Linked DNA regions of Homo sapiens: all the other regions are linked to region 2. The links are contacts of gene promoters, found by promoter capture Hi-C in blood cells and fetal thymus (Javierre and others, 2016). All regions are on one chromosome and are shown on one strand. Each heading gives the region's core, a stretch centred on a gene start or on the middle of the fragment in contact. The rest is flanking DNA. Distances are from core to core; before and after follow the strand shown.

Region 1 (4,701 bases), core at 529-3,028, 320 kb before region 2:
CATTTAATATTGACATATTAAATTTAAAATAACAGAATATATAATATGACACCAGGTTTTATTAGATATTAATAAAGGCAATGGGTAACAGCACCAAATATTTAAGAAAAAAATGTGGTGGGAAACCTTAGATTTGAAAGATATTTTATTAAATTTATTTTTCTGAAAAATTAAAAAGATTGCTATTATTCATATTTAATGGCACAGCACCCTGACTAAAATTATGGGAAAATGGTCTTCCATAGAAGGTATAGCTTGGTAACAAGTATCATGAGTACAAACACATGAAAATTTTGAATAAGTTTGTAGAGAGCTTATGTATTATAAGTTTGACTTTTTCAAAGTTGCTTTAAAGTTCCTGGAATTGTCTAAGCCAAAAACCAAAGGGAAAATACAAATAAGCAAATGCTGATGGATTTGACTACACACAATGTAAAACCAGTTTGTTGCATAAAACACTATAAGTAAAATTAAAAGGGAAAAAAAGACAAATTGGAAAAAATATTTGCAACATTTATTATAAAGCATTACTATAAAATGAGAATTTTTATAAATCAATAAGTGAAAGACTAATACTCAGGTAAAAATTGGTGGGCAAAAAACATAATAAGCTATTTATAAAAGAAGAAATACAAGCAGGCAATGTACACAGTAAAAATTATTCAACATTATTGCAACGAAATGCAATGAAATAACATTTATTTCTACCAGCCTGCAGGTTTAGGGAAGTGGATGCAGTCATACACTGCTATGTATGTTGGCGCAATTTTCAGAAAAATAGTTTGGGATCGTCTATCAAAAGGCTTTAAAATGTTTATACCTTTAATGTAATAAATAGTTTCAATTCCAGACCTGTTGCTATCTCTCATTGTTTCCCTTACACCAACAGTTTTGCTGGCATTCATGGTATCACTATTTGCAACTGAAAAATTATAAACAAGTCTCATTGTCTAATCCTAAAGAACAGATTAAGTAAATTGTGATGCAGCACATGATATCATACTATGAGCTGTGTAATTATTATGCTATAGATCTTTCCTTATTGATATTAATTTGTATTCTTAATATTAAATTTAAAATGAGCTTCAAAGATGTATTATGCTATGATTCTATTTCTGTTAAATTATATATTCAGATTCAAAAGCTGGAAGCTTGTATATCAACTGTTTATGCCATTTTATCTGGGTGGGTTGAATTACACGTGTTTATTTTGTTTTTCAGCCTAAACCTTTTTTTTTTCCTGTATTGATTATTTGTGTTAGACTGAGAAAAAAATGTATTTTAAGTTCCATCCTGCAGAAGCTGTCTAAGGAGATCAAATGACATATCTAGCTCAAGATATATCATTACCACTAACAATCTTTTTTTCCTCTAAACACAACTTCTCTTACAGATTCTTCCTTTCTAGAATGTTTTTCACCCATTTTATTCATGGGTCATCTCAGCCAGTGATGACTTTCATATTCTCCCAAGGGATCATAAGGTTTGTTTCTATGCAATAAACTCTCCCAATCACTAGTAATGAAATCAAACCACGCTAAATTAAGGTCTTTGTTAGAGAAAGGCCAAGTCAATGGATAGTTTTGTAGGATTTGAATGAATTGATGAAGAAATAAGTCAGACTCTTGGCTTTCATCTTACTTCCAGCCTCTGGAATAAGAATGTTAACTCAGCCAATTTAATGTTTAGGAAAATCAAAAAAAGAAAAAGAGAACAAAATTTTAAAACTTCCGTGTCCAAGCATTAAGATACTAACTGATCAAGTCAAGATTGCACCACTGCACTCCAGCCGGGGTGACAGAGCGAGACTCTGTCTCAAAAAGAAAAAAAAAGATACTCACTGATCTTATTTTTGAGCACCTATCCAAAGGAGATTAGAATGCTCAAAATCTGCTTAAAATGAATAAACTTGAAAGAAAAACAACAGAAACAATATACAGGTTTTGGAACTGGTGAGACCTTGGGTGCTCCTAGATCAGCCATGCATCTTGCAAGGCTCTGAGCCCTGTACTCTTCCATCCTTGCATCTTGTAAGCTGTGAGAATAGATGAGGCATTTAATCCTTCTGAGGTGAAATAATGCCAAAGTAAGGTTGTTAGAAATATTAAATAAAATTACATACATCTTGCATTAGACTATTGATAAATATCAGTTTCCTTCATCCCAGAAGATAAATATGAGGGCAGAGGAGGAGAAAGCAGGAAATCTCCCTCTTCTCTAACCCCCATGTTCAGAATTTCAGTGTGGTGGGGGAAATATATATGTGTTTGGAGGGAGATAAATAGGTATATGTTTGGGGAAGGAGAGAACATTTTAAGATAATTTTAACATCCATCTGAAAATAAGAACTAAGAAAAATCCATGGTCATAAAGTATAGTAACTACTAAGATATTGTAGAGCCCAGGAAAGCTTTGGGCCTGCAACACATAGATCATTATTTTTGAGAGTCAGCAGGTTCTCCCCTTGCCCTGCCTGCCAGATGGTGCTGAGCAATCTTAGCTATGCCACTGAATGCCTACTTCAGTCTTGCTCTTTGCCAAATGAGAACACAATATTTTTTATCTCTTAGAATACACCAACAAAATATAATGATTTTAAAAAATGCTTTGGGTGCTAGAGAAGGTAGTATTTCCACCCAAATTATTGTAGTTTTTGTCATTTTTGGTGTGGCTGAAGGTATGAGTTTTATCTTGGAAGTCCAAAGCTGGAAAAAATTCCATCTCAGTTCCAGTTAAAGTGAGAAATGCTATGGAGGAGACCTGAAATTTTAGGAGCTCTTGAAGCATGATGAGTAAATAGGTAGGAAGTTTAATGAAAAATAAACATTTTGTGATGGTGGGGGCTAAGTTTGTGGGTTGGGAAAATAGGAATGAACATATGGTGTGTACCTCAAATGGATGTGGTTTGAGAGAGTTGCTGTGAATTAGGCATATCACAAATGTGAAACACATCTACCACAAGGTCTACTATTGTGGGTTTGAATTTGAAATACTGAAGTGTTTCTTTAGGATCAAAGCTTTGGCAAGGGAAGGTGGGCACAGGGACAGGTTCCAGACTGGCCAGAAGCAAAAACTTCAACTTTTCCTCAGGAGACACGTAGTCTGAGAAAATGCTGTTGGTTGCTCAAGTATATATGTTCACATTTACTTTGGAGCATTTTTTTTTCCTATTGCTTAAGTAAAAATGCCTCTTCTTTAGAAATGAGCAATAGCTGGTAGCTGTTGATTTTCTGTCTCGGTGTCTCTTCTCCCCAGTCCTTTTGAGGCCTATTAGCACTTCCTGCCTGAACCCTCTGGAGGAAAGACAGAGAATATGCCTAATGAGTCGCAGTCTTTTTCTTCTACCATAAGCCTGGTTTATGAAGTCAAAATGGCAAATAAAATATGAATGCTCATGTATTTAGAGGAGAAGAGGACCTGGATAGACAGGTCACTATCTCAAAGCAAAGAGAGCAGGACCACTCGATTCCATCACAGCAGGAGCACCCAGCTGGCAAGGACAGCCCTCAGCATTCACACCAGATGTCTACTGAATCTTACAACCTTCTTGGGAAGTTAATTTTAAAATAAAGGCAAAGCACACAACTGGCAAAGTTCCTGTGATGGAAATTGGAAATGTCAGGGAACAAAGAACACAGGAAATAAAAGTTCTCTTTAGGTGCAGCTCCCTGAGCTACATCCAAGAAGAGTAAGGCAAAATCCCATTCCCTGCCACAAACCCACCACTCATCCTGAAGGACTGAAACCCGGAGAGTAAGTTGGCCTTATTTTCTCTGCACCTCTTGACAATTCCCCATTCCTGCTCTCACAGCTTTCTTTTATTCCCTCCAAATGGAGGACTTTAAATAAAGTCCTTTCTCCTGTTAAGTGCAATAGAAGACTAACTCCTTGAGGCAGGGATTAGATGTTATTTATATTTGTATTCCTACTGCCCAGCAAAGAGACCTTCATATAGTAGGTGCTCAATAAATGTTTGTTTATTGTATGCATGAACAGATGCATTCAATAATAATTCAAAGTGTGTGTGTGTGTATGTGTGTGTGTGTGTGTGTGTGTGTGTGTGTGTGCATGTGTTTTGGGTGGCAGTGGTGGGAAGACGTGTTCGAAGACTCTCCCCTAGGTCAGGGTACCTGGCATAAGACTGTCCATTTTATATGAGCTATCTCACTCACTCCTTCCAATCCTACAAGGTAGGTCATCAGAACTTCTCAGGAGATGGAGGCATGTAGAGGTTAATGTCACATGTGGGCTATTGAGGGCTGATATTTAAATTGAGCACGTGCTCCTTCCCTACTATGATGATTAAGACTCTCATTGATTACACCCTCTCAGATAATGATCCAGGCAGTGCTATGCCTACAAGATATGAGACTGGGTAAACCCCTTTATTGTGTAATTTTAAGAAAGGACTCCCAAAACTCAAATTGTTCCCACCTAATGCCTGAGAGACCAAATTCATTCTACGTTCCTTTCTGAAGGAATCTCTGGACTCCAGAATTAGCAAAGATTACTGGCATTGAATCTTTGGGTGTATTTCCAGCATTTCCTCTAACTGGATATAATACTATGTGAATCACTTTGCCTTTCTGAGCTTCAGTTTGTTCAGGTCTCCAAAAGGAGTGTACAACATTGCCTATTCTCTCACCACAGAGGAATGATATTGAATAAAAAATCCAATTAGATGAACTTCATAAAAAGATT
Region 2 (4,514 bases), core at 141-2,640:
TTGGGGGGGGGCGGTTTGGGGGAAGGCAGAAGGAGAAGAAAATTTGATTGTGATGGTGGTGGATTTTTTCCAAATTTCCCCACAGCTGTTATCAAAACATGCAAATGAGATTTTCCAACAGGATCTTAAACAAATCTGGAGGAGTTAATGCCGAAGCAAAATAATCAGCACGTTTGAAGTGACTGTGAGTTTCAGTTTGTCTTTTCTCCCCGTGATATTATTGCAGGGGAATGATAATTAGACCTTTAGAAATCCAAAGGGGCTCTCTTGCTCTCTTCCCTCTCTCATTTCTCTTCTCTCTTTCTCTCTCTCTCTCTCTCCCTTCCTCCCTCCCTCCCTCCCTCTCTCCCTCCCTCTCTCTTGTTCCCTCCCTCTCCCTTTCTCTCTAACTCTGATGTTGGCAAAGGGGGTTTTCTTAATCAGACTGTTTTTTGGTCCCAGGGAAAGGAGGAAGAAGGAGATTGTGATGGAGAAAGGGGGTCTGTGAAACGTCAGGCACAGCACAAAGGCTTTGCCACGTAATTACAGGCTCCTATTAAGTCGAGATCTGCCCTCCCAGGGGTCTCCAATTTTCTTGTATTCCCTACAAAGCCTCCTCTGCATGCCAGTTTGTGCCTTTTGAAGTGCCAGAGAGCTTCTTGATCCAACTGAGAAGGAAAAAGGAGCCCAGCAAGAAGAGGGGGAGAGAGAGAAGGGGAAAGGGGGGAACCCACCAGCACCCTCCGTCGGACTCTTGAAGCCTTTTTTTTTTAATTCTTAATTTTTTTTTTTACTCTTTACAAAAAGTAAAGTGAGAATCCTGCTCTCTAATACATCTGCAAGACATCACCCTCTCCTCCTGAAACTTTAGTCACTCCTGAGAATCCACAGGAGTGCAGAGAGGGGGGAACACGTTTTCTTGAAGATGTTTTAAAGCTGGAACAAGCCTTCTTCTGTTGGTGCTTGAACTCTTGCCTGGGAATAACTTTTTTAACCTTTAAAAAAACCATTCACTTTGATTCTTCTCTCCCACCCCTTCTTCTCTCTTCTTCTGTTTGCCTAACTCCCCCGCCCTGCTGGCCTCCGCTTTCCTCTCTCCCCCTTGTTATTATTTTTAGTCTGTGCGTGTGGACACTTTTGGAGAGTTGGAAGGGATTTTTTTCTCCTGACTTGAACATAGGGTGACTTTTTAATATTGTATTTTACTGTGGATTATCTCTTTGGACCGCGCCGGACTTGGCCTCAGGAAATCAACCAATGCTGCGGAAGGCGGCTGGTGCACAACGCTCTGCTCTACAGAAGGGGGTCCCCCACCCTCTTTTCCAATTTTTTTTTTTTGGCCTTCCTCTCCTTCCCTCCCTCTTCCTCCCTCTCTCTCTCTCTCTCTCCACTACCCCCCTCTTTCTTCCCCACTCGGCTCCTCTCCCCCCTCGCGCCCACAGCGTTTGGTGTTGATTCGAGCGGGAAGAGGGGGGTGGGTGGGATCGGTGGGGGAGACCATGACCTCCAGCTACGGGCACGTTCTGGAGCGGCAACCGGCGCTGGGCGGCCGCTTGGACAGCCCGGGCAACCTCGACACCCTGCAGGCGAAAAAGAACTTCTCCGTCAGTCACCTGCTAGACCTGGAGGAAGCCGGGGACATGGTGGCGGCACAGGCGGATGAGAACGTGGGCGAGGCTGGCCGGAGCCTGCTGGAGTCGCCGGGACTCACCAGCGGCAGCGACACCCCGCAGCAGGACAGTGAGTGAGGGGCGCATGCCCACGGGGGTGTGTGCCCGGGACAGAGGGCGGGGACCCGTGTAGGGCAGCTAGAGCCCGTCCGCGGCCAGAAAGACAAGGTCCTGGGACCAGGAGAGGTGATGGCAGACTTCAAAGGAAGGGCCAGTCACAGGGGAAACCAGATGAGAAAAGCGGGTCTCGGCCGAGGGCATAGCCAAGGAGGACGCTGGAGAGAGGCTCCAAGGTCCGGGGACACTCCGAGGCCCTGCGGTCTCAGGCAGGGACTCTGTCCGCGGCGGACTCTCTTTACTTCGGCTAGGCACCGGCTCGGTTCATCCCGCACGCGGGGCGGCGGGGCTGGGCTGGGAAAAGGTCTTAGCGGGGTGCAAACTCAGAGAGCCAGCGCTGTTTGGGAAAGCAGCAGGTTAAAGATGCTGAGTCGGGTTGGAAGGGCTTCTCTCGGGCAGCGTATGACGGCTTGAGGGAGGGCACCAGGCACAGGGAGCAGGACTTGGCGCTGCTCAGGCTGCACTCTCCACGCGGGCACCGTAAGGCCGGGCGCGACCGGGAGGCCCCGAGAGAACGCCCGGCCCCAGACGCTGGAGCTGCTCTCTGCCCCCTGCTGTTGCCTCTACCGCAAATGGGTTTGAGACTGGCAGAGTCAAAAGCCCGGCTGGCTTGGGAAAACTCGGGCCAAGCAAAGGGAATGTCCTTTAAGGGTGAAACCTGAAATCCAGCCCCGCATGATCCCGCACAGGCGAGCTGCATCCGGGAGGCGCGAGCTTCAGTGCGGAGGCCAGTGTCACCTTAGAGGAGCTCTCCCTATTGGCTCTTAAACGCCCAGAAAAGTCCAGTTTCCCTTCCCCATCCTCACCGACCAACCTCGCGACCCATGAAAATCTCGCTTCGCTAGTGCCTTAAAAAGAGACTGCAATTGTATCCCCATGCCCCCAAGTCTGTAACAGACCGGTCACCCTGTTCATCCCAGGTGACATGTGGCCAGATATGTACAGATACTCCCTCTTCTCCTCGAGGTTGCAAGAGTCTGAACTTAGCTGTAAGTTCTCAAATGAGGCTGGTTGCTTTCTATGTCAGTAGTTGCTGGTTACCATTTTTGTCTTCAAATTTGGAAATCGTGGAACCGGGGGGCCCTCCAGCATTCTATGATTTTCACAAAACGTTGCCTATTTCAGACTCTCAAAGAATAGACATACAAATCAAACTGCACATAGAAACAATTGGAAACAGGGTCCGGGCACAGTGGTGGCCCCGCGGGCCACGCTACAGCAAGCCGCAGAGAGAGCCTCTGGTGTGCTCAAGACGCCTGGTCTTCACCCTGCTTCCTTAGTTCCGGCCTGGGCGCCCCTGGGTGTTTTTAGCCAAAAGCGGCCTAGGGCCGATCCACCCAATGCATTAGCAGACTGCTACAGGAACTGAATGAGGAAGTCTGGCCTGGACACCAGAGAAAGGTGGCCAACTCTGAGGAATGAAGAACCAGGTGTCCTCAAGTTCCGCATAAAGGGCTAGGCGCAGAGACAGAGACGTTCTCTTTAGGGTTTGGGTGCTTGAGAGGCTGCACCCGCAGCATTACTTAAGTGTTTGCATAGGCACTCTTAGTTCTAACAAAATGCACTGAGAAATACTATGATTGTTTTTAAACGTTTTACCAGGGAAAATGAAAAACGAAAAATGTAGGGAGAGTCCAGGCGCGGTGGCTCACGCCTGTAATCCTAGCACTTTGGGAGGCCGAGGCGGGCAGATCACGAGGTCAGGAGTTCGAGACCAGCCTAACCAACGTGGTGAAACCCCTCTCTCCTAAAAATACAAAAATTAGCCGGGCGTAGTGCCGAGCGCCTGTAATCCCGGTTACTCAGCAGGCTGAGGCAGGAGAATCGCTTAAACCCGGGAAGCAGAGGTTGCAGTGAGCCCAGATAGTGCCACTGCACTCCAGTCTGGATGACAGAGTGAGACTCCGTCTCAAAAAAAAAAAAAAAAAAAAAAAGTAGGGAGAACAGCATTTGGTGTAGACCCCAGCTTCACCAATTCTGCACGTCCAGTCGTTTCTGTTTTGCCAGGACGACTTATTAATTGCAACATTTACCACTGTTCGGATACTAGAGGCTGGACCCACAACAGAAAACAGGACCACGAAGAAACTTCTGCTTAGAAGACCAGAGTGGGGCAGGAGAGACTAGATGCTGCTTTGCCCTATGAGGAGGCTGGAGGATGAGAAAACCAGGGCCAAGGCCAGCGGCCTCGGCCAGCCTAGGGAACAAGCCAGCCGTGGTGGCCCTCAGATACTGCAGGGGAAGAGGGATGAAAATTGTACCGGTTGTTTGGCTCTGAGTGGACGCCACTCCCAAGAAGGGAGCTCGGGATTCGTCGTGGCCTTAGAGTGGGTATGGAGCCGGGCTGGCCAGAGGAAGCTAGCTATGGAGCGCCCCCGAGCAGATTCGGAGGCGACGCGCGGTGGCTGGGAGGCTGCCCTGGACTGGGGACAGGCTTCTGTGAGACCTGAGCCTGGCGCCTCAGAGGCCCTGTGGAGCACGTGGAGTCCTCAGGAGCGCTCGAGGACAAGCTCAGCATCCCGGGCGGAATTGGGGACTGTATGTCCCGGGAGAAGGGGAGAAGACTCTAGAAACTCGCCCACGTGATACTCGGGCTCATCTCAGAGTTACAATGACTAGAGAGGCCTTGTGGGGAGAAGACCCAGAAAGGAAACTGAGGCTCAGAAAGAGGATGCTCTGCGGAAGCATGATCAAGAGACAGCTTCCGGAGGAGGCCGCAGAAGGCAGAGTGAGGTGATGGGGACGAAG
Region 3 (4,373 bases), core at 589-3,088, 430 kb before region 2:
ATGTCCAACAATGATAGACTGGATAAGAAAATGTGGCACATATACACCATGGAATACTATGCAGCCATAAAAAATGATGAGTTCATGTCCTTTGTAGGGACATGGATGAAACTGGAAATCATCATTCTCAGTAAACTATCGCAAGAACAAAAAACCAAACACCGCATATTCTCACTCATAGGCGGGAATTGAACAATGAGAACACATGGACACAGGAAGGGGAACATCACACTCTGGGGACTGTTGTGGGGTGGGGGAAGGGGGGAGGGATAGCATTGGGAGATATACCTAATGCTAGATGAGGAGTTAGTGGGTGCAGCGCACCAGCATATCACATGTATACACAGGTAACTAACCTGCACAATGTGCACATGTACCCTAAAACTTAAAGTATAATAATAAAAAAATTAGACATTTTTGTAATTCTTTTTTCTCTTTGATATTTTATTTCCATTCCACTTCCTCTTAGACTTTTACACCAATGCAATATAATTTTAAAAGTGAATATCTGTTATTGGTTACCCTTTTATATGCCTATACAACAAAAATTTTAAAATTTCCATTCTGTGTTTTTTTCACTACCTCCATAGTCAGAACTTTATGTCTAAATTTAGATTCCTTTTGCTACATTTTTAGCTCTGCCTACTAGTTGCAATAAAAATTTTCTATGGTCCTAGAGTTTGAAGACCTATAATTTTCTTCTGTATTATCATAACAGTTATTTTTCATATGGAAGTGATCAAAAATACACACAAATTATAATTTTTAAATATCAAAAATAATATTGTATTGGAGATGCTTTTCTTAGCATGATCGGTGGTCAGGTTTTATGGTGCTTTGATTAAATGAGGTGACACAAATATTTCAAATTATTCCTTTGTTTGACATCCCAGAGATTATTACATCGCAAGACAATGCATCGCTCCAGCAAGGATAACAAAGCGAATGGGAAGGAAAGGGTTATGAAGAGTTCATGGAAGGCACCTTAGGCAGACTACTTTTAGGAAAGAGTGGATGTGGAAGCTAAGTATCTGGAAATTGATTTCCTTAGAACAGTTTGTGTTTGCATGTCTTCTGAAAGGTTTTATGTACTCCCAAGAGTAAGTATACCTGTTTGAAGAAGCTGCTCAATATAGTTCTTAAAATAGTCTACAAACATGTTACCCCAGCATAGTAAGAAATAGGAGTACAGCCAGAAATGAGAGTGGGAATGATTAGAGAGACCTCTTTGAGGCCTTGGTCGTGGGCAGGAGCACAGTGGGCCGGGCTCTTTCTAGATGTGCTTTAATCATCAGGAATTCTGATACAATTATATTTTGACTATGATATATAAGCTTCATTTGATTACTGTTGCCAAATATTTTTTGCTCTTCACGAAGTAAACCTCTTTTTAAAACTTTTTAACTGGCAAATAATAATTGCATCTATTTAGGGAGTACATTGTGATGTTTTGATACATGATTACATTGTGGAATGATTTAATCAATCTACTTAAATTTAGTGAAAATAACTTAAGCTATTAATCTCAGCCTTGGTGGCTTCTCCTAATTTATGCTTACACAAGAGGCTATCTTCATTGTGAAATGTCACAGACTCTCACAAGCAAGAGAAGAAAATGTAGAGAAGCCCCTCAAATAAAATGCATTAGGTTAATTCATACCGACAAATGTGACACACTTAAAATTGTTCCTAACATCAGTTCATGATTTATTTCAAAAGTTCTTAATATTCAAAAATGCTCAATAATTTAAAGTATTTCAATGTATATAGCAAATAAACCCTGCTATTAAAACAAAAGAATCAGGTTCATTTCAGAAGAGTGAAAACTAGCAAGATCTTACTGTAAATCAACTGTTTGTTTTCAATTATTTGGCATGAGATCTTACATATTTTTAACCCATGTTTTAATTCTCGTAGATACCCTGTTGCAAAAGTTCTGAAACATTGTGAGAAAAAGTGTTTTTGTAGCACTTTGGCAATGGGAGCCTCACTTCACTCTGTTATGTAATGTCCCATCCAGTTTTTAGTTAAACCTGGAAACACCTTTGTCCTTAGGTGAAGCAGCAAGTCTTGCTTAAGCAAAGCTGGTGAAATCAGAGCCTGGTCCAAGGCTCAGAAGCGTTTGCGGGGAAAAGCAAACACTTTTTGTGGGAGAAGGAAACAAAGGAGAAGAGAGGAGGAGGAAGAAATTGAAAAAGAAGGGGAAGAGAAGAGGAAAAGAAAAAGAGACGTTGAGAGAAAGAAAAACAGAGAGCTGTGTGTGATTGGATGCCATGACTCCTCAGTCTTAGTGCTAATGCCGTTGTTACCTAACTCTATTTAGGGAACTTTCCAGAACAAAGCGAAGCTTTGTGGGCCTGGCTTTCAGAACTTATGCAACAATTGTTTTGGGAGCAGACTGAAAATTTTACAAGAGAACTGAGTTTTCAAGAGACTGACGGTGTGACCAAAAGATCAAAGGTTTGGTGCAGTGGGACTAAGTTTCAGGCAGCCTTTCAAATTGTGAAGACTTTCCTCCCTGTTATGGCAGTTAAGACATGTGAAAATGGTAGTTCGAGACACTTATAAGCAACTTTCTTCTTAGTTCACAATGTTCCATGAATGTCAGTGCCCTCCAAACTCACGAGAACAAAGCAGGCAACCAGGATGATTACTCCCAAATCATTGATAAAAGGAGAGAGAAGTACAGAGATACACAGTGATTTGTGTGGGTTGCCAAAAAGTTGCACGGTCAGTTTGACAACTGTTATTGCCTTCAGGTTGACAAATTGCAAAAGCAGCATTGCTGTGTATGGGTGGGGAGGGAGGAGGAATTGCATGAGTAAGAATGAGATGAGCAATAGTTAGGTGGGGTGGAAATGAAATCTCAACAGTTATTGGGGATTCTGATGTATTTATCAAACCAAAAGACGATCTAAAAGCCATACAATCAGACTTAGATTAGGGCAGTCTGTGATAAGCAAAAGTTAATATAGTGTGTTGTTTTTGAAAATATGGCATGATAATTAATAGCAACTCTTTTTGTATACTTGCTTGGTTAACAGGAGGAAACACAGATAAATTAAATACTGGTTAGCAATCTTTAATAACCAGGAGATGCTTAACATTTATTTAGAAATCTGCAACATTTTATAAATCATTGTTTTGGCTTCTGGGACAAACTCAGAATCTGGAACCCACGGAAACCCTTCAGTTACACAAAGGCTTTCCAGTTCATTGCTACTGCACTGAAGAACAGTCTTCACAACTATACCTGGAACTTACTAGGCCAAGAAGGCAAGGCGTTGGTATGTGTTTTTATTGTAGTTAAACTTATCTGGATTTAAAAGGCATTAACTATCTTCTGATTTCTTCCTTTTTCTTCAATTGTACAAGAGTGTTTCAATTGAATATTGCAACTGAAGACATTCACTCTGCGTTGATCACCTATGGAGTGATCAAATTTCAACCCTTTGAAGTTTCCTAAATGTAAGCCTTCTTCTTAAATATCCTTAAAGCAGCATTTTTAAGCCTGTAAAGATCCATGAGCCCAAGAATCCCTGCCTGAAGTGCTTTTGGCTTCAGTCATCCAGTTTCAGTCTTCCCATTGTTCAGTTACCCAGATAACAGTTAACCAGATCCTGGTTTTCTCTCATGCCTTGTGGCTAAAGTCATGTTTACCCCAATTGATAAAAATGAAAATGAAAATTATTTATGCAGAAATTCATTCTGGTACTACAACTCTCCTTTCCGTCACAATTTTAGAAGCTTAACCATGATATGCAAAGTGCATTCTGAGGATGACTAACTAGTCATAGTTGAAGGGTTTGGATAACAAAATAGCAGAATAGGACAGGGCCAGGTAATAGTCCTCATCTAAATTTGACTCCAAGGAGCACCAGCACTATTATCAACTCCCACTGCAGTTAAATTAAGATGCTTTTTCCAGAAGGAGTGAACATTCAGACGTAGTAAATTTACAGGGGCAGCTTCCAAAAGTGACGTGTTTCTCCTGGATTATTCCACTCAGAATTCTAGTTAGGAACAACACTGATTAACCCCAGAACACAGTTTCTTGGAGAATCTTCTATTAACCTGACTAGTTTCATGAACTTAGAGAAAACTTAGAGAAGCTTATAATTAATTATGGCCAATTATGCAAAGCTAAACCTCTGACAAGCTGTATCTATAAAAAGATATGAGACTGACTTTATTTTTTCTTTTCTGAAAGGAAAGAGGCACTCTGAATTCAAAGGCTGTTTGAATGAACTGACTGCTTCAGCACTGTCTTGTAGATATAGTCCATTCAAATAAAAGACAAATATCTGACTGAATTTTGTTAGCACGTTAAGACATGTATTATAAAAAGGTTTAAGAAGAAAATAATGGCCACA

Evidence for each region. Contacts are between HindIII fragments. The CHiCAGO score rates a contact against its expected background, and 5 or more counts as called.
Region 1: a fragment that was not itself captured here is called in contact with the fragment with the promoter of PRRX1 in region 2 in 1 of 17 cell types (megakaryocytes); the score reaches 5.2 in megakaryocytes.
Region 3: a fragment that was not itself captured here is called in contact with the fragment with the promoter of PRRX1 in region 2 in 1 of 17 cell types (megakaryocytes); the score reaches 5.7 in megakaryocytes.

What each region holds. Positions count from the first base shown.
Region 1 is chr1:170,343,804-170,348,504 of GRCh38, forward strand. No RefSeq gene overlaps it. Among named protein-coding and RNA genes, the nearest start is that of LINC01142, 62 kb to the left of the region's middle. The HindIII fragment of the contact is 1,259 bases long and covers 1,150-2,408 here.
Region 2 is chr1:170,662,741-170,667,254 of GRCh38, forward strand. PRRX1 (paired related homeobox 1) reads left to right here and starts at 1,391. Exons shown (of 4, transcript NM_022716.4): 1 at 1,391-1,719. The coding sequence starts at 1,479. RefSeq lists enhancers at 296-823, 2,024-2,884. The HindIII fragment of the contact is 9,244 bases long and covers 1-4,514 here.
Region 3 is chr1:170,236,855-170,241,227 of GRCh38, forward strand. LINC01681 (long intergenic non-protein coding RNA 1681) reads left to right here. Exons shown (of 5, transcript NR_146891.1): 3 at 3,376-3,468; 4 at 4,211-4,373. Among named protein-coding and RNA genes, the nearest start is that of LINC01142, 45 kb to the right of the region's middle. The HindIII fragment of the contact is 1,013 bases long and covers 1,333-2,345 here.